Linked DNA regions of Homo sapiens: regions 2, 3, 4 and 5 are each linked to region 1. The links are contacts of gene promoters, found by promoter capture Hi-C in blood cells and fetal thymus (Javierre and others, 2016). All regions are on one chromosome and are shown on one strand. The core of a region is centred on a gene start or on the middle of the fragment in contact, and the rest is flanking DNA. Distances in the headings are between cores, read along the strand shown. Region 1 holds the start of NIPSNAP3A (nipsnap homolog 3A). Region 2 overlaps GRIN3A (glutamate ionotropic receptor NMDA type subunit 3A). Region 3 overlaps GRIN3A (glutamate ionotropic receptor NMDA type subunit 3A). Region 4 overlaps GRIN3A (glutamate ionotropic receptor NMDA type subunit 3A). Region 5 overlaps GRIN3A (glutamate ionotropic receptor NMDA type subunit 3A).

The links. The method cuts DNA at HindIII sites, captures the fragments that hold promoters and counts their contacts. A CHiCAGO score of 5 or more calls a contact.
Region 2: a fragment that was not itself captured here is called in contact with the fragment with the promoter of NIPSNAP3A in region 1 in 15 of 17 cell types (total CD4 T cells, naive B cells, endothelial precursors and 12 more); the score reaches 56.3 in total CD4 T cells.
Region 3: a fragment that was not itself captured here is called in contact with the fragment with the promoter of NIPSNAP3A in region 1 in 4 of 17 cell types (M2 macrophages, naive CD8 T cells, M0 macrophages and 1 more); the score reaches 11.2 in M2 macrophages.
Region 4: a contact is called between a fragment that was not itself captured here and the fragment with the promoter of NIPSNAP3A in region 1, in 10 of 17 cell types (naive CD4 T cells, naive CD8 T cells, total CD4 T cells and 7 more). The highest score is 17.5, in naive CD4 T cells.
Region 5: a fragment that was not itself captured here is called in contact with the fragment with the promoter of NIPSNAP3A in region 1 in 9 of 17 cell types (naive CD8 T cells, total CD4 T cells, total CD8 T cells and 6 more); the score reaches 15.8 in naive CD8 T cells.

The regions. Positions count from the first base shown.
Region 1 is chr9:104,745,382-104,750,641 of GRCh38, forward strand. NIPSNAP3A (nipsnap homolog 3A) reads left to right here and starts at 2,302. Exons shown (of 6, transcript NM_015469.3): 1 at 2,302-2,471. The coding sequence starts at 2,412. LOC107987105 (a long non-coding RNA gene) reads right to left here and starts at 2,258. Exons shown (of 5, transcript XR_007061705.1): 1 at 2,068-2,258. RefSeq lists a silencer at 2,196-2,285 and an enhancer at 2,706-2,865. The HindIII fragment of the contact is 7,745 bases long and covers 168-5,260 here.
Region 2 is chr9:101,598,945-101,604,204 of GRCh38, forward strand. All of the region lies in intron 6 of GRIN3A (glutamate ionotropic receptor NMDA type subunit 3A), which reads right to left. Among named protein-coding and RNA genes, the nearest start is that of PPP3R2, 6.6 kb to the left of the region's middle. The HindIII fragment of the contact is 1,138 bases long and covers 1,988-3,125 here.
Region 3 is chr9:101,689,414-101,694,673 of GRCh38, forward strand. The region is part of intron 1 of GRIN3A (glutamate ionotropic receptor NMDA type subunit 3A); the gene reads right to left. Among named protein-coding and RNA genes, the nearest start is that of GRIN3A, 47 kb to the right of the region's middle. The HindIII fragment of the contact is 5,431 bases long and covers 1-5,044 here.
Region 4 is chr9:101,708,719-101,713,978 of GRCh38, forward strand. The region is part of intron 1 of GRIN3A (glutamate ionotropic receptor NMDA type subunit 3A); the gene reads right to left. Among named protein-coding and RNA genes, the nearest start is that of GRIN3A, 27 kb to the right of the region's middle. The HindIII fragment of the contact is 6,514 bases long and covers 1-5,260 here.
Region 5 is chr9:101,729,134-101,734,393 of GRCh38, forward strand. The region is part of intron 1 of GRIN3A (glutamate ionotropic receptor NMDA type subunit 3A); the gene reads right to left. Among named protein-coding and RNA genes, the nearest start is that of GRIN3A, 6.9 kb to the right of the region's middle. The HindIII fragment of the contact is 5,344 bases long and covers 1-5,260 here.

The sequences.
Region 1 (5,260 bases), core at 1,052-3,551:
CCACTGCAAATCTAAAATTACCTTAATAATCACATATCTTTTAAAAATAAATGGTAAACTGAACTGGTTTTACAATTGGGCTTCAAAGTCTGTGCCACTTCGTAGCAATGAAACTGAGAAAATTCTCTTTTCAGACTTCACCTTTCTCACTTAAAAAACGGAGATAAAGCTTAACTCACAGTATTTGAGGATATTTAAAACCTGTGAGAAAGAGAATAGGAGAATATTTTAGCTACTTAGAAGCACTTAACAATGTTTAGCCATCTCTCAATTGTAGCCATGAATTTTGCCCCTATCTGTATTTTCCTCTTGGAAATTCCTCTTGGAAGTTCCCTGTATCTTTCTGCTGGATGGATGCAGTTAATGATGAGACTAGGGAATGGCAAAGCCACCGGGTAGAAGCCTGGCTCCCTAATTCACTAAGTATAGAAGAGCTACCTGCCAACTAGAAAAACCCACTTTGTATTCTTATAAAAAATAAACTCCTATAGTGTTTGAGTAATAATACACTTTTTTGAGTGTTGATTTACAAGAGCTATTTAATCTACCCTAATTAATATATTATTGAAAGATACTACCAAATGCTGAGTGTTCTGGCCTTCTTCCCTCCTCAGCCTCAGGAAACTGGCAGCAAGGCTTTTCTCACACAGATAAGATACTGGAAGTTTCCCTTCCCTAACACTGACTACACAGATAAATAACTTGCAGATAACAGTTTGGGGGGAGGGGATACAGCCTTCAGTGAAATACCCAGGTCAGATCACCTCACAGTGAAGCCCACTATTTGAAGAGATTCACCTGTGCTTACAGTGCTTTTAACATGTTTTTCTCACTCCAAAATATATTTTTAATGTAAACATCAATAAACGCAGGAAGGAAAGTGTATTTTGAGGGAGTGGTATGAAGAAACCTAAATCCTAAATATCCAAGTCAATAGCTAGAATCCTGACCACTTTTAGAATTCCACTAGCACCTTTATTCGTATCTTACTTTATTTTTCTTTATATTATTTGACAATCCCTGATATATTTACTCTTCCTTTTTTTATCTGTTTCCTCCATCCTGGATGTTCCAAGAGGACGGGACTTTGAATTTTGCTCAATTCTGTACCCCAGTTTCTGGAAAAGTGCCTGGAACATGGAAGGAATTTAGTAAATATCTGTTGAATAAGTAAATGGATTGGCAATTACAGGGTTTAAAAAAAAAGGTCTAAGAAAATAATTTACTCATATAGATCCAGTCCTGATACAAATGATTTTTTTAGTCTTGCATGGTTACAAATAGATGTCTCTCTTCTAGAAAAACTGAGGCAACCCTTCCGAAATAACTAATTTTAAAAAGTCTCCCTTCCTTTGAACAGACAATTCCAAAGCTCTTCCACAAGGCACAACCAATACAACCCAGGTCATGGCCCTGCAATCCCTCCCTAGTCCTCATGATGTAAGCAATATTACATTAATGTTTACAATAATGTAATTATTAGCAAGAATAATGTAAACATTAATATAGATTACTGTAAATTAATAGTGTAATTAATTACTGTAAATTAACATAAGCATTATTAGATGCAGGAAGACAAGTGAATTTGGGGGCAGTGGCATCTATGAGACATAAATCCTCATCTGCCACAGAAGGAAGTCAACACATACTATCCATAACTGAAAATGCAATAAACAGCAGAAAACACTACTTACTTAAAAATACAGAAACAAGCATTAAATGAAACAGCTTGAAATGTTGAAGGTGGTTACTCTGGGAACCAACACTCCCGGACTGGGAGGACTAGACCAGGGTATGTTTAACTTTGACTTTTTCATTTCAGGCTCGATGCTGCCATTTCTCTGAGCTCGTGGAAAATTTAATCTAAATCTTAATTAGGAGCCTTCTAAGATGGAGAACACATTCATTGCAGAGAGGTCAGGCTCAAATACACGTCTATCACAACATCTAAAACTTAACTCGGAAAAAACCTCCACGATTTTAAATACAAAGCACTGCACATGCACGCACTCAACACCTCTCCTTCTTTCCCCATGGTCAACACACCCACAACCCCTGCACATTTACCAATCTACACAACTGAGCACTGGAGCGAATGAGGTGAGTGAGGGCCCAGAAAGTTGAAGCAGGAACGATCCGAGCCTTCAGTTAATCCTAACGTCACCTCTAACGTTTGGGGTAAGAACGTTTCAGGAAACCAAGGGGGAACCAACGCTCAGCACAGCAGAGAAAGACACCAAGCTACGGGACCCGCCGCGCCTCCCGCGCCGGGGTGGAGCTGACCCCGCCGAGCCCCGCCCCAGCCTGCGTCTGCCAATGATCCAGGAGCCGCTCCTTTCCACTCGGGAAACCTTCAGAGGAGTCTCAGAAAGGACACGGCTGGCTGCTTTTCTCAGCGCCGAAGCCGCGCCATGCTCGTCCTCAGAAGCGCCCTGACTCGGGCGCTGGCCTCACGGACGCTGGCGCCTCAGGTACCGGCCACGGGGGTACCCAAGCCTTCACCCGACGGGAGGGGAGGGGCGGGGCGGGGAGTGTTCCGGGTACGTGCGAGCAATGCGCATGCGCTCTCCGCCACGCGCGCCCAGACCTGGGGCCCCGGTGAGGTTCTAGCGTGAGCCCCGGAACCCCAAGACAGGGGTACCCGGAACGCGCGTGAGGAGGAGGCCGCTGCTAGGGGAATACCCCCAGCCGGGGTCGTCTCGCGGGCAGTGGTGGTCAGAAGGCTTTTCTAGCCTGGATGCCACACCCACCGGGACACTCCCATGGCGCCGGCTGTTTCGTTTTTGCTGCCCAGCTATGTCGCGGCTGCGGCCCAGCGAGCGCTCCCATGTTGTCACCTGGCGCTGTGGAGCCGCGGGTGGAGTCGTAGCTTTCCAAGCCACCGCCCTCTCTAGACATCAGGTTGAAGGAGGGAATTGTCAACCAGCCGCTTGCCACGGAACCGGCCTCCCCCTTTTAAATGAAGCACACAACTTCCGAGCATTTCGCGGAGACCCTTGAAGAGGAGGCCCAGGGTCCCGGTGGGGCTGGACCCTGCCCGCCACCCGCGCTTCGTGTGGTCGCTCCCCCAACCAGGCGGGACCGGAGCCTCCTATCAAACCGGACGATGACAGACAGACTCTTTTAACCTTAGATGAGAAATGGACAAAATGGAGCTTGTGATTCTGCCCTAACTTTCGGGAGTGGCCTATTCTGTGGCTTCAACCTAGAAATTTCTTTTCCTTTTGATGTTTAGGACTTTACTCCTTTCTGAAGGGGCAGGATGGGAAGGGGATTAACCTGTCCTAGAGACAGACTGAGGAGCACTAAAGAAGAGCAGCTCATGTCCATTCACCCCGGGTTAACAATGCAGTTTTTACCCTAATGATTCTCCAGTGGGGCAGGGCCAGGAATGACGTCCTTATGGCATGATTCCAAACTTTAAGTTTTTAGAAATGTCCATCAGTTGTTCTCTTTTAAGTGAAGTGGAGGTCGTTGCTGGTGGGAATGATCCCTAACTTGGAGATAAGGGAGGATGGACGACTCATGATTTCTGCCCTAGCAGCTAAAAGTCATCCCTGCAACAAAATTCTTAACTCCCATCCGGCTCCCCCACCATACCCGGCTCCCCTGCAGTCTTCCTTCTCTGGCACCACCTGTCCACATCTCTCTCCCTCTCTCACTGTAGGTTCCCTACTGTATATTAATACTGCCCAAAATTGTAAAAATGTGTACCTTTGATCAACTATTTTATCCTCCAAATACAAATTCCTCGAATCAACCTGAAATCCATTTGTCACAAATGCCCCATTGGCCTATCTCCTGATATATTTTATTATAATAATTTTGAAATTATGGATACTAGGCACTTGCTTCTTGACCAACATTGTTACTAGAGTTTGGTTTAAAAGCACAAAAAGAGTGTCCACAAAAGGCAGGGGCAGCTGCAGCTGTTTTTGTTGGTAGGCTTAGTCATTTGAGCAATAAGAATATAAGTCACACACGAATAGAATTAACTCTAGATAATTATCATTAAGCCTTATCATACACAGTTACATAATTTTGTATTTTGTAAACAAAAATATGTCGGAGCAAAAGCCTACTGCTTTCAGACAGACATACTGGCTAGTCAGTATAAGCCCTAATTTGTCCATAGCTTTGTAGGTATCAAAACTGTCTTCACAGATTATTCTGGTGTAATCAACTTAAGGAAATGGCACATGCTATTCAAACTTAAGTAAGATGGATTTATAAGAATATCACGAATGCCTGTGTGTATACCATGAGTGCATATATATATGTGTGTGTGCGTATGTGTGTGTGTATGTGTATACATATATACACATAGATACCTACATAGAGGATAATCTTAGGCGAGGTATTTCTTACAGAAAGTTCAACCAGAACACAAATTAGAAATTTACAGTGCGTGTATGACTATTACAAAAGGAATTAATGGTTCTTAAGTGATATTTTCATCAATGTGGTATAAGTGGATTCATTAAATGTTGTTCACATTGCATCTGTAATTAGAAACTAATAAGAAAATTTTGACTCTGAATTTTCTTTTCTCAGCATTCATGTTCTACCATTATATTACAATGCAATTGGATAGGTCAGAGCTTTTTATTGCATTAGTTACATTCCAGTCCTAATTTTGGTCAGTGGTTTACTTCATTGAATTAGGAAATACTTTGACCTGAACTGTAATTTCCATTTTTTTCAAGAACCTAAAAGAGTTTTCTTCTAGTAAACATTTTTTTCATTATGCCTGCCAAAAGTTACGTGCGTAGTTAATAAAGTTCTTTGATGTGCATAACTGTAACACGTATGCTCTTGACTAAAGATGCAATATTGGCTAATAGGAAAACTTTTGTAAATTTGTTAGAATCCTAATTGTAGTTCTTGGATAAAGAAGTATCATTAAGATCTCAGCGCCTTCTTATGAGCAATTTCTGAAAAAGTGGCTAAAGGTGACAGTGAACCCCCACTAGGAAACAGTAACTACACACTCAGCATATTTAAGAGTAGTTGTCTTTATTGACACCTCTATGTAAACAAATGTATATGTGAAGCAGGAGAATAGGGTCTTGAGGCAGGGAACCTAAGGACTTCCTAGAACTAAATCAAACCCTTCAGCTATGACAAGAAATACCCTCTTCATTTACATAGGGTGTACACAGAGTAAATGACTTTGCAACTTTACTTCATCCTCTTCATTTATATACGGCTTACACCACATAGCCAATGGGACACCTCTAGAGGGTACTGAAACCCTAGA
Region 2 (5,260 bases), core at 1,307-3,806, 3.1 Mb before region 1:
TTGATAGTCATTTAGAAAGGAGCTCCCAGTGTGAAAACTCTTAGCTGTATTTCCCTATGTGAGTGTGTGGTTAGGAGGTAGGAAAGGGTAATGGAGAGAGCATAGGAGGTAAATAGTTGGTTCCAGCCTCAGCTCTTTACCTTATTAGCTGTGAGCCTTTGAGTGAAGCCATTGCTGTACCAGCCTCAACATCCTCATCTGTGAAATGGTGATAATACCTACACATGCTTCATCTACCGATGTGTTATTGTAAGAGTCAGATGAGGTAGCGTATATAGAAATGTTATGTAAGAGGTGAAATCTTGTCACAGGAATATTGAATGGTTACACAGACAGTATTAGGAAGATGGTACCACTTCACTGAAATAATTCAGGTGTACAAGCAGAACCATTCTACTCTGTGCTGTAGAGGAGGTAACATTATGCTAGATCTGGAGTTTTAGTCAATGTGAACTTGAGTTCCCATTGTTCTACCTTTCATAAACTATGTAGCTCAGCATTATTATGGGACTCAACACCATTGTTTTGATTTTCTCTGTAAATGATTCTTAGTAATTTCCATGGAAAACACTGTTTGTTACTTTTCTGTTCATCACTGTGGATTGATGTGGACTGTAGGACATTCACTGAAGCAAGTAAATTAAAAGGGTTGACTAACTGTTTTGGAAGAAACCAGGAGCCTTGATGGCACCTCTATTTCAGCATGTCATTTTTTTCCCTCAAAAGTTTTTAGATAAAGAAATATTGAGTAGGTCACATGTAAAAATAACTGACATTGGAAAATCAAACCAACGGAAATGGAAATGAGACCTGAGGTTCATATAAGGCTTCATTTTTCAAGCCAGTCAGGAGACCAGGTCACACAGCTGTTCTAGAAGCTATACAGGTGGTCCTTGACATTTGGTTGGAAGCTCTCACCTTTCTGTAGCATTGCCGGTCACCATATTTAATATCTAAGCGTACTGACGTTAGCCACAGTTTAGACTGTGGAACTACTAGCTCGAGTTTAAACTGTTTTTGAGCATCAGGTTTGTCATCTGTTTGGTTTTCTTTTGTAATACTGAAATGGTGTTTAATGAATTTTGGCATGTATGGTTTTAAATCAAAGTTTTGCTATTTAACAACTTTGTGACCTTGGGCAGAGTTACTTATCTGAATCTTTTCACTCATCTGTAAAACAAGGATGATGATTACTAACTCATAACATCACTTTCAGGATTAAATGAGATAGATTATAAGAAGAAGGGTGCTCAATGCCTATCACATAGTAGGTACAGGAATGGTAGAGATTATAATTATTGCCTACTTTAGGCTTGCTTAAAAACTCAAGTAGACTGTATGCATACATGCACACAGATATACTCAGCTATTTATTTGTTTTCTCAACAAATAATTATTGAGGATCTACTATGTGAGAAGAATATAATACTGACCTAAAGTGGATACTTTTCTTGTTGTCCCTGTTCTCCTGGAGCTTACAGTTTTGATGGGAAGATGGACATTAACCAAATTATCATGTCCATAGATGTAAAGGAGCACCTGCCTTGAGTGTTACAGATGAGAAGTACATGGTACCAGGAGAGTTTGGACAACAGAAAACTTTTACTGGGGAAATGATGACTGATTTACAATCTCAAGAAGCAGAAGAAGTTAACTAGATGTTCTGGGAAGGAATGAGTGTTCCAGGTAGAAGAAACTCCATGTGCAAAGAGGCCCTAGGGCAGGAGGAACAAAACAAGTAGGAGGAACTGAAAGAATGCCAGTGTGACTGGAGTAGGGAGGTCAAGGGAGAGCATATGGAGCATACCGGAGTAGGGAGGTCAAGGGAGAGCATGGTATTGGACGAAGTGATAAGATGGTTTGACCATTCCCCATACACTGAAGAAAAGACAACATTTACTCAATTATTCTTTATAGGGCATCATTTATTCAATCATGTTTTAACATGTAAAGCATTGGGACATTCAGAGATGGTCTTTGCTCAGAAAGCTTGCTGATCAGTGAGTGAATTGAGGCATTAAAGAATTATAATTAATAATACAAGATGGACAACAAAACATGTCATCAGAGAGGTAAGGGAAAAGAACTATAAGAACTCAGAGAATTGAGAAATTACTTCTTGCTGGGAACAATAGAGGAAGACTTTTTTCTTTCTTCAAGAAGTATTTGATCCTGAGGGAGAAAAGGGAACAAGTACCATAATCACAGAAGTGGGAAAGAGTACAGGTGTAGATATTAGCAAGTTGCTTATAATGGCTGAAGTACTTGAGCAAAGTAGCAGAAGATGAGCTAGACAGAACCAGATGAAGCAGGGTTTTGAATGTTTGGCTAAGACATTTAGTCTCTACCCAGTAGGGAAAGCACACGTTTTATCAAAAGAACAACTTAATCACAATTATATTTTGGAGAGATTAATCTGGCATTATGGGTAGATTGAATAGGACAAGAGACCAGTATCTGGGAGAGCAGCTAGGAAACAATGACATCTACAAATGCTTGTCTAGAAGAGCCTGAGCTGGGATGCAAGAGGCACTAGAAGTAAAATGTGGAGTGTATTAATTATTTTGCAAGAGCTGTTGTAATGAAGCAGCACAAACGGGGTGGCTTAAACAACAGACATTTATTGTCCCCTAGTTCGGGAGGCTAGAAGTCTGAAATCAAGGAGTTGGCAGGGTCATGCTCCCTTTGAAACCTGTAGGGCAACCCTTGCTTGCCTCTTCCTAGCTCCTGGTGGTTTGTGGTCATCTTTGGCCTTCCTGACTTGCAGATGCATAAATCCATTCTCTGCCTTCATCATCACATGGTGCTCTCCCTGAGTGTCTGTCTTTGTGTGATAGATGGCTTCTGACAAGGATGCCAGTCATACTGGATTCGGGGTTCACTCTTGCTGCAATATGACTGCATCTCAGCTCAACCAAACATGTCTGCAATGACCCTATTTCCAAACCAGAACACATTCTGAGGTATTGAGAATTAGGACCTCAGAACCTCAATATCTTTTTTGGGGGACACAATCCAACCCATAACACCTAGGCTGAAGTCTTATTGGACAGAAGGACAGAGGGAAGGAGCTCAGAGGAGGCCCCAGATGTGCGTGCATTGGCTTCCCTGGCCAGCTAGCCCTAAGCTTTCATGTTGCAGGAAGCCACCTATACTGTGTGAGAAGAGGGGCATCTCTATAAAGGCTCCAGGGCTCTCTCATGATGTTGCCTTCTCATCCAACACGTCCTGAAATTCTACCAACTCCCACAGCCGCATGGGGAGGAATTGTCCTCAGATACCCTGGAGGAAATGTCAGGGCAATTTCTCACAATTTTAGACTTGGTTTTTGCCTTTTGTGAGAAAGAAAAAAGATGGCTTTTGCAGTATTTTGTAACAACTCGCATCAATAGCCACTAGATGGCAATCTTCACACATTTCCATGCTTTCTCCGCTTTCTTCAAACCCGAATCCTCAAAGCCTGGAGGCAACTCCTCTCTGCACAGGGAATAGAGGTGAGTGAGGAGTCCCATTTCCTGTGATCCCCCACAGACTTTAGTGCATGGAAGTCTAAAAAAATGGAAGGAAGACTGTCTCTCACAATAGTCCTAATCAGTTTTAGCACCGTTCATACCTTTTAGTTGCATAGTAAATAGCATTTCATAAATATTCATGAGTTTGCCGAATTTAACCAGGGGAAAAGCAAGAACTCTTAACAGTATGTGGTCTTGGGTGTAATTTATGCCCAAGTATCTCTGGCATATAAAAGCGGGGACTCTTATTCCGAGAGGTCTGTTTACTTGGTCGTTAGCAAGGGTGAAGGAGACACTTGCTGAAATTAGTTTTCCTTCTCTCAGAATCCTAATTTGTGTTATTTATAGTAGCCAGAAAGCAACAGAGAAGCAGCCCTAATCTTGTGATGATACGGAGGGAGGGGAAAACAAGACCAGAGAATTGTAGGTCTTGGGCCTGTTCACACAGGAGCCTAACTTCGAAATACAATTGACTACATGCAAAGACCAAGTTACCATTGTTTCCGTAAAGATCTGTTTTAAGTGCAGTCTAATGGTTTGTATAAAGCATCTTCACTTTTTCCCACTCAGACACTGAGCTAGAGGAAAGAAAGAACACAACACTACAAAAGTTAGTTAAACCAGCAATTTGAAAAGTAGAAAATTCCAGAATCATGCATTTCTCATTTTGAAATAAAAAATTATTTGGTTCTATAACATACGTAAGCAATACATAAAAGAGTGTTTATCTCGGAGTTAGAAGATGCTTGTAATGATAAGATGCTCCTGCTTTTTTCGAGATGGGACCAAGATGGGCCTAAGAGGGTGGGTGCACCAACTGTAATTTCTTGTCTATGCTTATTATTCACCAAATATATGTATTTTTTCTGCGTGCATGGTTCTATAATCAGGGAAGGAGAGAACATTTGTCAAGCCAGGTGTTCGCCATAAACGATCTCATTAAATATATTTCACACTTTCAGTCAGGCCCTATTATTATTCCCGGGTTTGGAGGAAGATCTGAAGTTTTGGAAGTTGCACAGCTTGCGTAGACACACAGTGGTGGAGCTGGGAGTCAAATCCTGGTATGTTGCTCCCAGAGCTGAAATTCTTCTGTATTCTAGACTGCCTTCCATATAAGACTAGAAAAGATGTCCCTGCCTTTGAGGAGGTGGTAGGGAAGCTACAAGCCCGAGCACAGGAAAAGTAAAGGCCTATAATTTACTTGTGGGTTTACCTGTGACTGGATAACAAGCGGGCCAAAGAAAGCAGCCACCTGTAATTTTAGAATCCCTCGGGAAGGGGCCCTATTAACAGGGCATACAATTCTGTCAATCCAGTATGATTGGGTGCAGTGTCTTCGAAGGGCAAGGCCAAATTGCATTGCTTACAATTTCACGCCTCAGTGTTTTACTCTGGTTTTGCCTGGAGGCTTCTTCCGCTACAGGGGTTACCTCCTCCAGGAAGCCTGCTTTGATTCCTTCTAGCTCTTCCATGTGTGAATTATGGCCTTGTTTGTGTCACGGCTTACCTTATGTCTTCATTTATTGCTGCCCCTGTGGCGGTGTGGAATTGGGTATTTTTCACAAGTCTCTCTTGAGCTCCTATGAGCTCTCTGCCTGTGAGCTCTGTATTCATCTCTGCATTGGCTGCACCCAGCATGGGACATGGTACGTGGGAATTCAACACGTTTGCTAATGGATGGATGGGAGAAAGGAAGAGAAAGAAAAGGAAGGAAGGGAAGGAGGGAGAAAGAGAGAAAGAAAGGG
Region 3 (5,260 bases), core at 1,079-3,578, 3.1 Mb before region 1:
GCATTTAGTATTAGACAGAGAAACAAATCCAATAGGCATGAGAGAGAGAGACATGGGAGTGAAATGAAGACCCCTACAATGGATAATGATTAATTCATATAATCACACTCACCCCTACAAACAATTCTACTGAGAAATTCCAGATGTTGAAATTAATCCTTACACAAACTTGAGACATATTTCTTCAGAAAATTATTAAATGATAGTTTAGAAGCATCTAATGAGATATTATTGATTTAGCAGCCTCAGATGCAGTGTTTTCCAATTTCTCCCCATATAAGGACAAAGGCACACACATATGCACATGCATACACATGCACACACACACATACACACACACACACACACACACACACACACAAAGATTATGAAAACTTATAACACTAAAATTCAAGCCTGATAGTAAAATTTTTGTCAAAATCCAGGACAAAAATTAAACAAGACCTATTGAGTAAAATTGAAAAGGAAAATCTGTGTCTTACATATGGTTTGTTGTTTGCAAAAGAGCAAGCTCATGGCCTGAAAGAAGATATAAAGATTTTAAAAGTAATTTCCATATTGTTTTTCTCCTAAATCAGAGATCCAGAAACAGAACAACTCAAGAAATAGGAAGCCTGTCTCTATCATGCAGATAGAGTGAAACTGCCTTATAGGTACATTCAATTTATCTATATTAAAATAAACAGGCTCAGAAGAGAGAGGTGGGAGGGAGAAAATATGAATTTAAATAGTACTGATAATTCTCATTCCCTTAAATAAGTGTGCTACTTATTATATTATGGTATATTATTTATATTATCACATACTTTAATGTAGCTATATTATTTTTCATATTGTATACACAAAACCATATATGTCAAGCTAAATAGGTAATTTAAAAGATTTTAAAATGTAATTTTTCTACACTTTGAATTGAATCTTCATTTCTAGTGGAGATGAAACTCCACTCTACTCCATTAATTTTGCAGGTTTTGTTCCATCATAATCTGGTTAGACATTGTTTCAGAGCCTGAAATTTCCAAAAGAATAGGGCAGGAAATATGGCTGGGGAATGTGTGTGCTGCCATGCACTCGTAGAATGAAATCCCAAGTAAGTGCAGAGCTGCAGGGAGAGAGGAGTCACCAAGAAGTTGGTTCAAAGCATCAAAGAATCATTCAGTGGTGTGGGAGAAGATTGCTTAACCCGCTATGGATCAGACTGTAAATATTAAAGTTCCATATACAGAAAAATCAGGCAAGAGTGGTAAAAATATTTGGAAAAAGAAAATGATAGGCCTTGCTTTGGAGGATATTAGAACACATTAGAAAATGTCATTTTTATAAAGCAATAATAATTAAAACAGGGAAGCACTAATAGGTACTAATAGGTACTAATGGAGTATTAAATTACTGTGTTATAAATTAAAATAACAAAGAAATAGGGAAGGAAATAGGATATTAGAATTTGAGAAAATAGATTAGTTAGAAAAATAACAATTAAATTTCTCATTACATCATATATTAAAAATATGTTCCAGGCCATTAAAGAGCTAAAAGTACAATATCAAATCATTAAAAGATAGACCAAAAGGTAAATATGTATCAGAAATTACAATAATAAAAGGAAAACATTGAATTATCACAGCACACCGTATTTTTAGTTTTAAACACCTATCATAAAAAATAAAGGAACATGAAAAACAAGAGAATATTAGTAATAAATTGGGTAGACAAAGAGTTAATGTTCACCAAATGTATAAAACATTTACTAGTCAATAAGGAAATAGAAGCCTTTACTGAACACTTATTCAATCATGAAAAATAATTTTAAGCTCCTACCTTGAGCCATGACCTCTGCATGGCATTTCCTGTTGTCTCTATGGTGGATGAGAGATAGACAATATGTAACTAACTATATGAATAAACACTTCCTATAACTAGAAGTCATGAAAATTACTGTAAATGAAATAATAGGGTCCAGCAAAACTAGGAGAGGAAGAAGAAACTAGGAAATATTAATTTAGTAATTATGATTTGTAGGGGTTGGGAGAGACGAGTATTTGTACTATACAAGCGTTCTTTAATTGGGACTTAAGAAAAAAACGAGATGTATTTGAAAACAATTGATCACTATATAGGTAAATATATATAATGATTTATAAAAGTAAACACATTTAACTAAAAATGTAGTCTCATTTTGACCATCCATTCTTCTTTGACTGGGTACTGTCTTCCTAGTCTCAGATAAATGGTTGGAGCCACCATCTGCTTCTATATTTCCTGTGCGATTCTGCATTGTCCTCTTCAGCAGGTTCTACAGTGTCCTTAAGTTCTAAGTTTTCCTTGCTGGTGGGGCCACTGTCTTCTTCAGCAGTTGGGCTTTTCTGTCCTCTTTTGAGAAGCAGTATAGAGGTTAGGACTTAGTAGTCAGGGCAACCTATGCTTAAGTTCTGTCTCCATGATTTATGCACCATGTGGCCTTTTGTAAGTCATTTAGTATCTCTGAGTCATACCTCCCTCATCTCTAAAATGAGGACAATGCTACTTCCTAACTTATGGATTCATTTTGAGAATTAAATGTAAGAATGTGAGAATGCATGGAAAGTGCCTGGCGCAGAGTGAGGGCCCATAAGTAGTAGTTGTTACAATTGACTTACAGAGTTTAGTCACTGTTGGAAGTGACTGACTGCAATACAGTATTTTTCTTTGCTTTTGCTCCTTCTCCTTTTTCTTGTCTATTTTCATACAATGGTCTCAGCAATAGATATCTTTTACAAACATAAATTACACCAACTTCTCAGCAGGAAAACAGAAGTGCTCTGTAACATATTGGGAGAGGCTGTTTATTTGGGAGATACTATGTTTACAGTAGAGTCCTCCCCACACCCCCAACTCTTCTTTCTTTAGTAACAAGCTCCAGTACCAGTCAGCATGCAAGTTAAGGAATTCTTGGTGCCAACTCCTGGAGATCCCTCATCAGTCTTTGTTCTCTCAGAGAGCACAGATTCTGCTAGTTTGTGGATTAGTAAGAGTTTCAAAAACAGGATTGCCTGCAGGAAAGAGTTTGCCACAGAGCTTTGAGATATTCCCTGACTGAATAAAAGAGGTGATGGGGCTGGGTTTAAGAGAAGAGAAAAGATGCAATTCTCTCAGCTCTTTCCTGGGCAAGGGGAACCAAATGAGCTAGGTCAAAGCCCAAAAAGCTCAAGTGAACATAATGTTTCCACTGCTTTTACCAGAGATGAAATTTCCTTCCTTTCATCCGTCTGCTGATTACTAAATACATTTGAGAGGCTCAGAACAGGCTTTCTACACAGCTATCGCTTCTCCTCAGCCAAAGAGGCTGCAGGAGGTTTTCTGTTTCTCATTATCTCACATCTCATTTGACCTATATTATACAGAAGACTTTTTCTTCTGAAAATTAAAGATTGTTCCTTTAGCAGCCCAGGCTTTTAAATAAATTAACTATTCTTATGGTTACATTAAGGACACAGACAAGCATAAGGTGTAGTCCCTGCCCAGAAATTGTAATTTAATAATAATTATACAAATGAAGAGCTAATACCTACTGATGTCCCTAGTGCCTTATGCATATTATTTTATTTCATCCTCACAATGGCCTCATGAGGTGACTGCAATGATCATCCCCCTTTAATAGAAGACAAAATCAAGGTTCAGAAAAAGTGAGTAATTTTCCCAAGGTGGCACAGCTACTAAGAAATAGAGCTTGGGCCAGGTGTAGTGGCTCATGCCTTTAATTCCAGTGCTTTGGGAGGCTGAGGTGGTAGATCACCTGAGGTCATGAGTTTGAGACCAGCCTGGCTAAGATGGTGAAACCCCATCTCAGCTAAAATATATATATATATATATATATATATATTGCACGGAGGGGTCACACGTGCCTGTAATCCCAGCTACTCAGGAAACTGAGGAACGAGAGTTGCTTGAGTCTGGAGGCAGAGGTTGCAGTGAGTCAAGATTGTGCCACTGCACTTCAGCCTGGGTGCAGAGTGAGACTCTGTCTAAAAGAAAAAAAAAATAGAGCCTGAATTCAAAACCACAATTTGTTGGACTCAAAAGCCTGTGCTTTTACCTATTATTCTATACTGTTCCCTCTACTTGATAAAAGCAACATGTGCAGTAGATCCTTGACATTTGTAGATTTAATAATTTCCAATTATTTGCCAGTAATCCTAAAGGCCCATGGAATAAAGCCACTTGTAAGGTGTCTGAGGCATGAGTTAGAATGACATTCCCTGTGTTTCTGGGCCATGGGAGTCAGGGAGTCTCCAGCCTGCTGCCCAGTGTGCACATGGCTTCCCAGCTGTTTTCTTCGCTCATCCTCCCATATGTAGCAATTCTTGTGAAATGATGAAACTTGTATTTCTTCATGAACAACACTTTAAAAAAGAATGATAGTTGCATAATTAATGACATCAGTTTTGTGTTTGGTAGAGTAAGCAAGTTTGGAAAAGCTCACCTAAAGTTTTCATTTCAATTCTACTGAATTTCATGGTCAAAATTATATTCTAGACTATGTTCAACACCACATATGGGGATGTCAACAAAGATCTTAGCACATATCTCTCAGGATTTTTGAGTGGCTGATATATTAAAGAATATATAACAGAGCAGTACAATATAATGAATGTTTCAGAAGGCAGGATTATCCCTGCATGGTGCAGTTGACATAATATTGCTGGCAATGCTAGGTATGGTCTATTTCATTGCAGCAGTGTTGGAAAGGCTGAAAGGTTTGGTGATCTGGAACAGGGCCCACTTCTTAAAATAGAGTATACACAATTAGAAGAAAGTGTTGGCATGCACAACACCACTGTCTTCAAAGACAGCCAGCTTATTTATTCATACAACAAATTATTTTAAAGTCCATTTTATACCAGGCTATGGGTAAAGAATTGCATGTCTTCAGGCAGAAGAAATAGCAGGAGCATGCATATTACATTCTTTGAGCTAACCAATTCTTCTGAGCCCCAGGATGATTTACAGAAAGGAGTGTCGGGCATAACAGGTTGATTGTTGGTAATCACTCAAGCTACCTGCACCAAGCTTCTAATCATGGACTTTTTTCCCATGATAATTCCACCTAATTATTGATACCCAACTCATTCATCTACACATCATCCCATTTCTGCCTTTTGTTCAGTATGGTTACACTTTGTTTCTCTCACCCAAACCTTGGTAATCTTGAAAGCATTTGACTCACTCATTCTCTGGGTCCTATTCTCCCAGCCCACTCATATAAATTATGCCCCACACAAAT
Region 4 (5,260 bases), core at 1,144-3,643, 3.0 Mb before region 1:
GTTTCTATGGCTAGCCTGACATTTTTATGCTAGATGAGTGAGCATCTACCTTTCACATTATAAGGTCTATGCTAACATCTCCCAGATGTTTATCAAAAGTCCTCAAAGTAACTTTGCAGACTGTCACATAAAATTTCGCAGTAAACCTCCAACATATGAATATGTCATAGGACATATTTTATAAATCCCACACAATAGTAGAAAGCTCAAGATTGAATCTTTAACTCTTGTAAATGTTTTCAGAAACCTTTGGAAAGGATTCTAAATGATAGTAACACACAGGCAATTTCAAAATATTCCTATGACCCTTGGCAATGGACTCACTCTTTAAACAGCCTGCTCACATTTTCCTAGCCATAACCTGTATTCTAACTCTTTGTTTTTTTTTTCTTCTCTTTTGAAATTGAATTTTTCTAGGAAGATGAGATGCTTACCCATTTCTAGAGGCCGGACATGATAAAGGAAGCTAATGATAAATATGTTAATGTGTATTTGAGGTCAAATAGGTCTCAGAAAATTCAAATGACCTTTTCTGGTAAGAAATAAGATTCATTATTTATCTATGTCACCAGCTTCAGATGATAATAAATACAGTTTCAAGGTGCTAAGGGGGTAATCTAAAGGCAGCTTTAAAAAATATACCATTTATTGAAACAGAGTACAATTTTCTGCTTATGGGACCTTTGGTAGAATACACTTGGTTTTGTGGAGGCAGCAGAGCCTGGTTATTAATGTGTCAGGAGGGAAGTTAGGACCTACGAATTCCATAGTTGATGTTGTAGCAGCTCACGCTGCCGTCTAAGTTCTCAGAAGGACCTCTGCATCTGTAGTGATTTAGAGGAGAGAGAACTGGACTTAAAATCAGAAAATTTTATTTTTTTACTTGCTCGGTAAAATAAATTACCCAACGCTCAGTTTGTTCATTTGTAATTTGGGAGAATAATGCCTTCCTCTCAAAGTTGTTTTAGGTTTTTACGTATATGCAAGGTTAAGTGACTGAAATTACTTTGCAAATTGTAAAATGCATATCAAGGTGAGTGATTATTTTTATTACACAAGTACAAAAATGTTTTAAAAATTATTATACAAGTACCCAAGGCCCCAAGGAAGTGAAACACTCTAGCCTGACTCTACACTGCATTTATTCCTTTTTCAGTTATGAAAGACTCAGAGAATGATAGATGTCATTTTATGATCTATCAACATGATGGCTTAAAGAACATTTCAAAAAGTGTTGCTTGGATGCCTTGAACGTAAACCTATTCTACATAAAATTGGTCTCTTTTACTGTTATTCTCTAAATTGTTTTTCCTGGAAATCCTGTTTTAGAGAACTCCGGGTGAATCTCAGTGATTTTGGGGTCCGGGAGAAGAAAATACAGAGATTAGATTTGAAGTATGGACAGTATCAGTTCAGTCTTTAAGAACAGGAGAGGTAATTATAGGTAAATGATCACTGGGAGTCTAGGCAGGGTAGAGATGGGTGGGTGGAAACTGGGGAGCTAAGATAATTAAGGCTCTAAGTCTCAACTATCAAAAAATCTTAAATGACAGATAGTAGCTATTTGGTATTCCAACAAATCTTTCTATTTTGGAGAATTCTTACTGAGTCTCATGCATACACACAAATTAACATAAAAATTCACTTGTTGTATAGAGAATGTCAAGTATATGCAAATACTGGTAATCTTTTGCAGACATCAGTGGCATCAATGTATATATTAAGATTTGGCAGATGACTGATGCCCCAAGTCCATATTCAAGGGTAAGAATTTAGTGTTTGGATGGAGATCTCCTCTAGTTTAGAGATCTGCAATAGGCTGATACCTTCCAATTTCCACCCTGTTCTGTGGATTCATGTTGTAACTCAGGGATTTCTATTTATGGCAAAATTATATAATCAGTTTACTCAAGTTGCTTTCCTAAGGGAGGGACGACTGAGAAAAGTCAACCTCTGGTGATGAGGTATCCCAGGTAGAAATTTTGCCAAACAATTATGGTAACATTATGTGGTACAGAGTTGACTGGCAACCAGACATGGTTTTAGGCACTCTGAATGACAAAGCAGATGGCTAAAGCAAATCATTCACATTAATAGATTTCTTCTAAAGTTTGAATTGTCTGATTTTGACTGTTTAGTTCAGATGAATTGGAAAATTGCAGTCTCCACAGCTCTGAGCAGTTATGCTATGTTTTCTCATATACATACATATAATAAAATTCAATTTATAAATTAATTGAAGAGATTAATAACAATAACTAATAACAAAATAGGACAATATAACAATATACTGTAATAAAAGTTTTGTGAATGTGGCCTCTCTCTCTTAAAATATCTTACTGTACTGTACTCACCCTCGTCCTTCTTGTGATAATGTAAGATGATAAGATCCCTATGTGATGAGATGAAGTGAGGTGAATGGCATTGGCATTGTCACAGAGCATTAGGCTACTACTGAACTTCTGACCATATGTCAGGAGGACCATCTGCTTTGGGAGATCCTGGATCATCGAGCCATGATGACATCTATGGTTGGATGTCAGGGGCAGATGATGCTGATAACCAACAGGCGGGTAGTGCATACAGCCCGGATTCACTGACCGAAGGGATGATTCACACATCCCGATAGGTCAGGGTGGGACGGTGGGAGATTTCATCATGATACTCAGAATAGCGTCCAATGGAAAACTTATGAATTGTTTATTTTCGGTTGACTATGGGTAACTGAAACCTTGGAAAGCAAAACCTTGAAGAGGGGAGACTACTGTATTCCACCCATTACGTTTCTGGTTCTGGTGGGCTTTGCCAGTAGAGGCCACTAGGGGGAGACTGCAAGACTGAAGGAAGAGAAAGGGTTTGCTGCTTCTTGTCTGTCTTTTCTGTCTCTGATTTGCTTTCTGTGGGTTACCTGACTGCTCTAGGTTCCTGTAAGCATCACCCCAGCAATACTTCTTCAACTTGTTAGTGGTTCTTTTCCAGGGCAGTGGCGGAATCTAGTGCTGTCTTTCAAAACTGGAGATAATTGATAGCGAAATGAGCATTGGAAAGCTGGACAGAGTAGGGGTGGGTGAATGGAAACTAGAGAGCTAAGATAATTAAGGCTCCAAGTCTCGACTTTCAAAAAATCTTTAATGAGAGACAGTAGCTATTTTTCAATATTTGTAGAACCACTTTATTCCGTGCCCTCGGAGATACCATCAACCAGCAGGGTAAAGGTCTGAACCTGAGCTCTTTAGGGTCCCTCCTTGGAGCTCAACGATTCCATCACCAGCTGAGCAACACCCCTTTTCCTCAGATGCCTGAATTTCAGCTTTATGGGGCTACCCCTCTAAGCCTCTAAATATTTCTATTTCCAGTCTCTTGTTCTTTCCTCAGCTCAATGAATGGCAACTGCTTGGAGAATTTAAATTCACGATATCATAAAGTTCTCCTATTATCCTTCCAACTACCTAATTGACAAGTTTGTACTTAATTAACAATTCTTTTCATTAAAATTTCACTCTTCAAATAACTGACTAAGTCTCACCAATACACTTACTATCTGATGGTTTAATTAATTACTTGGAAAACCTAGAAAGATCTTGATTTTGCACTAAATTTCTCTCTTAATGACTATCACCCAGAAGAGCCTTTTGAACTACAGAGTGCAATTCTTCCTGGACTTCACTAGCTTCAAACCAGGTCATGGGTTTCACTGTACTTCAGAGCTGCTTCAAAGTTACAGAACTAAGTGGAAGAACAAATGAGGTAGACAAGGCAGTGAGTAGGAAATGGTGGGAAAGCCTGGATGGAAATGAAATGACTGACTTCTTGTTCAACCCCAAATTACAGTGATGGATCACCATTCTAGAACTCATCCATAAGATTCCAATAAAATGCAGGAACTGATCTGATGAAGTGCCTCTCAACTTCCCAGTAAAATATCAAATAAGACACAAAAATATGAAAGCTCACCACTCTAAAAACATCTACTAATAATCAGCTTATTGCTAGAACAGAAGGATATTGCACAAACTACCAGCTAGTGGAAACAGAATAAAAAATATGAGATCGTTATTCCATGTAACAATGATATAACTAATATTCCTGGAAACACTTATTATGGACAAGGCAATTCTTAACACTTCATAGAAATTATTTCATTTAATCCTTATTAAAACTCAATGAGACAGATCCTATTATTTCTATCTTATGGGATGAGAAAAGATTAAGATTAAGATTCCTATCTTTGTGAATGAGGAAACTAAGGCATAGAGAGCTTAGGTGACTTAATCATTGCATTCCACTAGTAATTGGCAGAGATGGGATTCAAACCCAGGTAATCTGGGTCTTCTGGCTCTTAATTCCTTTAAAGACTTCCATCCCTTTCCTTCGGCCATTTAGTTCAATTGGAAAAGTCACTAGAGCTCCTCTACTGCATGGGCTCTGCTTTCTGGGGCAGTCAGAATGACATTCAATCACTTCTCCGCCCTGATGAACATTTTTATTATTTAATGTAGGCATCTCCAAGAAGAACGTGTTTGGGAGAGGTTTAATTCCCACAGGAAAAACACCATAGGAGGTAGAAGAATTAGACATTCACCCCAGCAGACATGGAACTGACAGCTGTGTTATTTTTAAATGTACTTGATTGGTTCAGATCAGTGATTCCCAACAAAAAGGGCATATCAGAAACACCTGGGAAATTTGTTACATACACAAGCTGATGCCTTCTAAGATTTTGAACCAGGAAGTCTAGGATAGAGCCTAGGTATGTATTCAGTAAAAGATGACTAGGTAGAGGAACTGTGTATCAGAAAGCAATGCAGCAGAGGATAAATAAATTCCAGCTTGGGTTACCAGAATCACACCACATGCCTGATGGCTGCTGACAACTGGGATTTGGTTTAGGCAATGTGCTTGGTAACTTAGTGTCTATCTGCATTTATTAGAAGGGGATTTAGCTAGCACATAAGTGAATCCTAAGTTAGACGGTGCAGTCCAAGTAGCCTATTGGTTGGTAAACAGAGGGTATGGATGGGTTCCTTATTGTTTTTAGAATAAGAATTCTTCCCGCCAATTAAAACCAAAACCAAGACTGGGTATGGTGCCTCACACCTGTAATCCCAGCACTTTGGGAGGCAGAGGTGGGAGGATTGCTTGATGCCAGGAGTTCAAGACCAGACTGGGCAACAGAGTGGAGCCCCCATCTCTACAAAACAAAAATAAAAAGTAAAAACAAAAAATTAGCCCTTGAGCCCAGGAGTTTCAGTGAATTCTG
Region 5 (5,260 bases), core at 1,379-3,878, 3.0 Mb before region 1:
AGCTGAAATGGAACCTGCCTTCCAAGGATAAGGTGGGCCAGATCCCTTTCTATCTTTTTGTCACCTCCTCCCTGCATAAGTCTGTGTGGGCAATTGTATTCATTTCTTGTTGTTGCTGTAACAAACTACCAAGAACTTAGTGATTTAAAACAACACACACTTATTCTCTTATTACTTGTGACTAGAGGTCATAGTCTGAAATATGTTTTGCTGGGCTAAAGTCAAGGGTGGCATTCTTTCTGGAGCCTCTGAGGGGAAAACCCATTTTCTTGCCTTTGAGTTTCTAGTGACTGCCTGTATTTGTTGACTTATGGCCTCTTCTCCATCTTCAATGTGTGTCACTCCAGTCTCCGCTTCCTTTATCACATTGTCACATCGCCTTGTCCTCTGACCTTGACTTCTTCTGCCTCCTTCTTATAAGAATCCTTGTGATGACATTGAGTACACCTGGATAATCCAAGATACCCTTTCTATCTCAAGATGCTTAACATAACCACATCTTCAAAGTCCTTTTGGCCATAAAAAATAACATATTCACAAGTTTTGAGGATTCAGATTTGGAACTCTTCCAGGTACTCAGCCCTACCACACCAAAATAAGCTCACTCCTGTTTCATAAGCTCATATCTGTTGTCCTCCATCTCTTCTGCCACTTCTTTCTTTTGTTTGCTTAGATGGAAGATCAAGATTTAGAATTAAGAAATGCCACACAAACCTGAAGCCCAAGTCGTATGTCCCAACTCAATTTTTTCTAAAGACCTATGCAGCAGGGCACTGGGCATTAATGCATTTATTAATAAAATGAAACTGTCATTTCTGTTCTATTGTTCCCTGAGTTTAGTTCCTCAGAGCCTCCTATGAGAAGTTATAGCAATAGTTAGGAAAGACTTATGAGTTCCTCACTAAGACCACCTAATAGACCAAAACATGCTTCTTCTTAACCTTGATGTAACTGCTGCAAAACTCCAACCACCCTGAACCCATATAAAGGAGCAACTAGGTAAAACTGGACTTCAAAGTTCACTTCTTTGCTGACCTACTTTGCACACACTTAAATTGCGGGTACACTTCAGTGAACCAGAACTCTAAGTGGGACTTCAAAACAGCAGATTTCTTCATTTTTCTCAGGGTTATTTTGCTGGAGCTGGAAGTCCTAAGCCTGAATATTATAGACACATTGCGAATGCATAATAAGGTAGAATATTTGAGTTCTTTTTCTGATTAGTTTTTATGAATCTTGCCACGTCAACACTTTATGCTAAAAGAACAATTATCAACATCATAAGAACACACTGCTCTAGGTACATATGGTGCAGTCCTCACCATAAACTTATAAGATAATCACATTTTATGACTTAATAAATTGAAACATGGAGACATCAGGTATGTTTTCCAAGGTAGGATGTCTAAAAAGTTGTACAGCCAAGATTCTAACATAGCTCTGAACTTCTCAAAAATGTAATCTCTTAACTCCCACCTTATATTTCCTCCATCATATGTTATAATTATCTCATTTACATTATAATGGTAATAATATTTTTCTGGCTCTCCTCACAAAGTAACTGTGAGGAAAAAATTATAAAAGAGATGAGAGAGGGCTTTGATACATTTAAACATACACTACAATTTATTCTTTCTAAAATATGTATTTTCATACTGAAGTATTGAAAGTCTAGATGAGAAAGTATAAAGACAACTTATCTTTTTTCTCTTATTATTTTTTAATTCTGTAGGTAAAAATGATTATTTTTAGAAAAATAGATGCATGAATAGAGAAAAATGTAGATTTTCACCCTCTATAATCCCTGTTAAGATTTTTATAAACAAAGTTCTAGACTTCATATTTTACAGGAACAAGGTCACACTTTACATACATTTTTGTAAAATTTTTCTATCTTTCTGTGTCAATAAATATATCCTCATTTTGAATGAGTACATTGTACTCCGTTAAAAAATGATTCAATTAATTACATTTCCATCATTTTGAACATTATTATATAATATGCTTTTAATAGTCCAACCTGGAAGTAGATACTTCTCTCTTTTATGCCTTTTCTTATGGGATATTACAAAAGCTGTGATGGATCCAATCTGTTCTTTGGTTGAAGGCTGACAAATAGACGAAGTTAAGAAGGTGCTATTAGTCTGTTTTTCTTCTGGATGGCTTCTCACTTCCTACAATGCATAGTTCTTTCTATTTCTCCATATTTTGTCTATACATAGTCATTTGCTTTACAGGGCTGTTAGGAGATTATTTAAACATATTTGTGAAAAAGCCTTGAAAAACATAAATGCTGCAAAAATATAATATGATTAAAATTCTTCCTAAATCTATGCTTCAAATGAATAACGATGAGGTGTAATTCATCCTGACTGAAAAAGGAGTCATCCTGCTTAATTCTCTACCACATGAACCCTTGCAGGCTCATCTCCATTAACAAACCAGCCCTGGCCAATCAGACACCAGCCTTTCAATGTCAAAGTTTACTCCTCATGACATAATGCCAGCCAGGTCAGGGATCAACCCACTTTTTCAAGGCAGGAGATCAAATACAGTTGACAGTCTCCCTGAAAGTGCATGAATCTTACACAATTAAATAAAATATCTGAGAATTTGGCTGAGGTGTCAGGTTGAGGAAAGGAGAAGGAAATGGAGAGAGTTGGCTTACTCTTAGCTCACCTCTTCCCCATTGCTCTTTGCTCCTGTGATCTCATAGAGAAAATATCAGCAAAAGACAACTGAGAGGTTAAAAATTTCTATGAGTTTGTCATTCAAACATTCACTCAAAAAGTAATATGGCAGATGCTAAGAGATGTTCTTTCTTCTTGCCTAGTTTTATGGATTTGGCATCATATTTCTGGTGCTACATAGGTCCTCTATTCTTGTGTATATGTGGCAATAGCCAGAGCTAGCAGAAAAAAAGACAATGAGATTTCTCATCTCTATATTTACTGTTGCCACTAAAATGAGCAATACTTTCCTAAGAGAGTATACAGTTATCTAGGGCAATGGGACTCAAAGTAGCTGGTTTGTAAATTATATATCCATGATGAGATAAGGAGCTTAGGTCAGTATGAATCAACACACTGCTTTCCTTATCAAGAAAGTTTGCTATGAAAAAATTTGGATGTTTGCTTTGTGGTGTAGTTGGCGGAATAGGAGTGAGAGTGGGGTAGACTCTGTATGGTCATAATTTCCTGAATGATAGTTTGCCTATAGAAAAAACTTATGAGCAATGTGAAGGACCAACATTTCTCAAATATCTTGGGCATCTTAATGATATTTCTATGGCAGGACTTAAGGCTCTAGAAGCTGTGTTAGATGTGCCATAGGTTAAAAGTTGCTGGTAATACAGAAACAGTACTGTGGCATGTCTTCTTTTTCCAGGCAAGTGTGCAACCTACTTAGGAACCTAGTTTTTTGTTTGTTTGTTTATTTCTAAGCCCACTTTTTTTTAAGAGAAAAAAATGAGGGAGAGGGTAAAGAGGAAGGTGTAAGGGGAATGCAAACATTTTACATGTGAATCATATCTCATTTTGATTAGTAATTTCGAAAAGAAAATTAGTTGAACTTTAACACTTAAGTGATTCTTACCAGATAATGACCAACACCTCTCCACTAGTTATTTGGGTAACACTATAACTTTTCCAAAGTACTTTTACTTTCTCATTTGATTCACAACATCTTTGTCAGATTGGTAAAGTACCTTCTTTTGATCTACACTTCTGATAAGTGTAGATGCTCAGAGATAGTCACTTGCCCAAAATTACATGGCTAGTGAGAGATAGATTGGGAACATCTGCAACGAAAGAGGCAGATTGGGAACATTTTGGCCACTATTTCATATGCGTTTCATTACATTGTGCTCTTTTAACTATTGTGGTTGGAATTTGACTGGGGGGTTATTTATAAAATAAAATCTAATGGTACAAAATCCATGGTGCCTTCTGCAGCACCAGAAGATAAAACACGAGGAATTAGAAATTGGCATCAGTCTTCAGATACCTCAGCTGATTCGATCATAAATTAACTCTAAGATATAATGGTCAGACAAAATCAAGAGCAAATATATTCTTCATGGATTAAGTGATACTCTTCTGGCAAGCACAAAGTAAAGCGGGAGAGACAAACTAATTGCTCAATAAATGGTGCCTGCTAGTCTCCTTTGCTCTACTTATCTAGAAAAGCGAATACATATTGTAAGTAAATAACTAAATTAAAAAATACTTCCAAGTTAATGCCAGGTCTCTGTTCTTCAAGAGGAACCTGTAAAAGATCACTGCTTTAAAAAGTTTTGCATCACTTGACATTTAATTTGAAATTGTTTATCTTTAAGTCAGCAACAATTAGATGCGACTATCAGCTATTCATCATGAATTGCAGAATACATTTCCCCCAGAGGAGAAAGAGCTGTGATTTGCATAGAGCAAGTCAAAGAAAACCAACACAGTTGAGAGCAGATGTTTTAAAAATAAATATCCCTTACTGGTCCCCTCATGAGGTACCCCTGTGCCATGCAAAAATAGTGCTTTGTTAGCCAAATTCTAATAAATAGGCTTCAGTGCTTAGTCCTGTACTGTCAGAGAAAATGCACAATTTAAAACACTTGTATTTCCATGAAAGAAGCATATATTAATTTGTTAGTACATATCGCTCATGAAGCAGGCAAAGTTGTGGTTGGTGTATTCAACGAGAGTGTTGAAAATAGTAGTGGGATCACTTTTTTTTTTAATTAAAAAATTTTTTTAAGAGTCAGGGTCTTACTATGTCACCCAGGGTAGTCTGGAACTCTTGGGCTCAAGCAGTCCTCCTGCCTCAGCCTCCCAAGCAGCTGAGACTACATGTAGGTGCCACCATGCCTGGCTGTGCAGTCACTTTTGAATTGCATGGATTTGGATCTAAGCCAATTATATTACATCATTAACTCTGCCTAATAGAACCAATATGAAGTTAAGGTGAGGTGTATATTTTTTTTAAAAAATGTGTACTTGTCACTACTTCAGCAGGTAAACTTTAGGGAGTTAACTTTGAAGAAACTACACAAAACCTGTAGAAGAAAAAGTCATGTAGGAAGGAGAGAGAAAGAAAGTATAACTGCAGGAATTTAATTTAGGTGTAAATGGAATTAGGTTCATATTCAGCATCATTATTTGAAGGTTATAAGAATAGAATTTAGAACAAAGAAGTAATCATTTTAATAAAATGGGTTAGCCTCAAGTGGGGTTTGAGTGTTGTAGTGAAGTCAGAATTCTTTTGATGG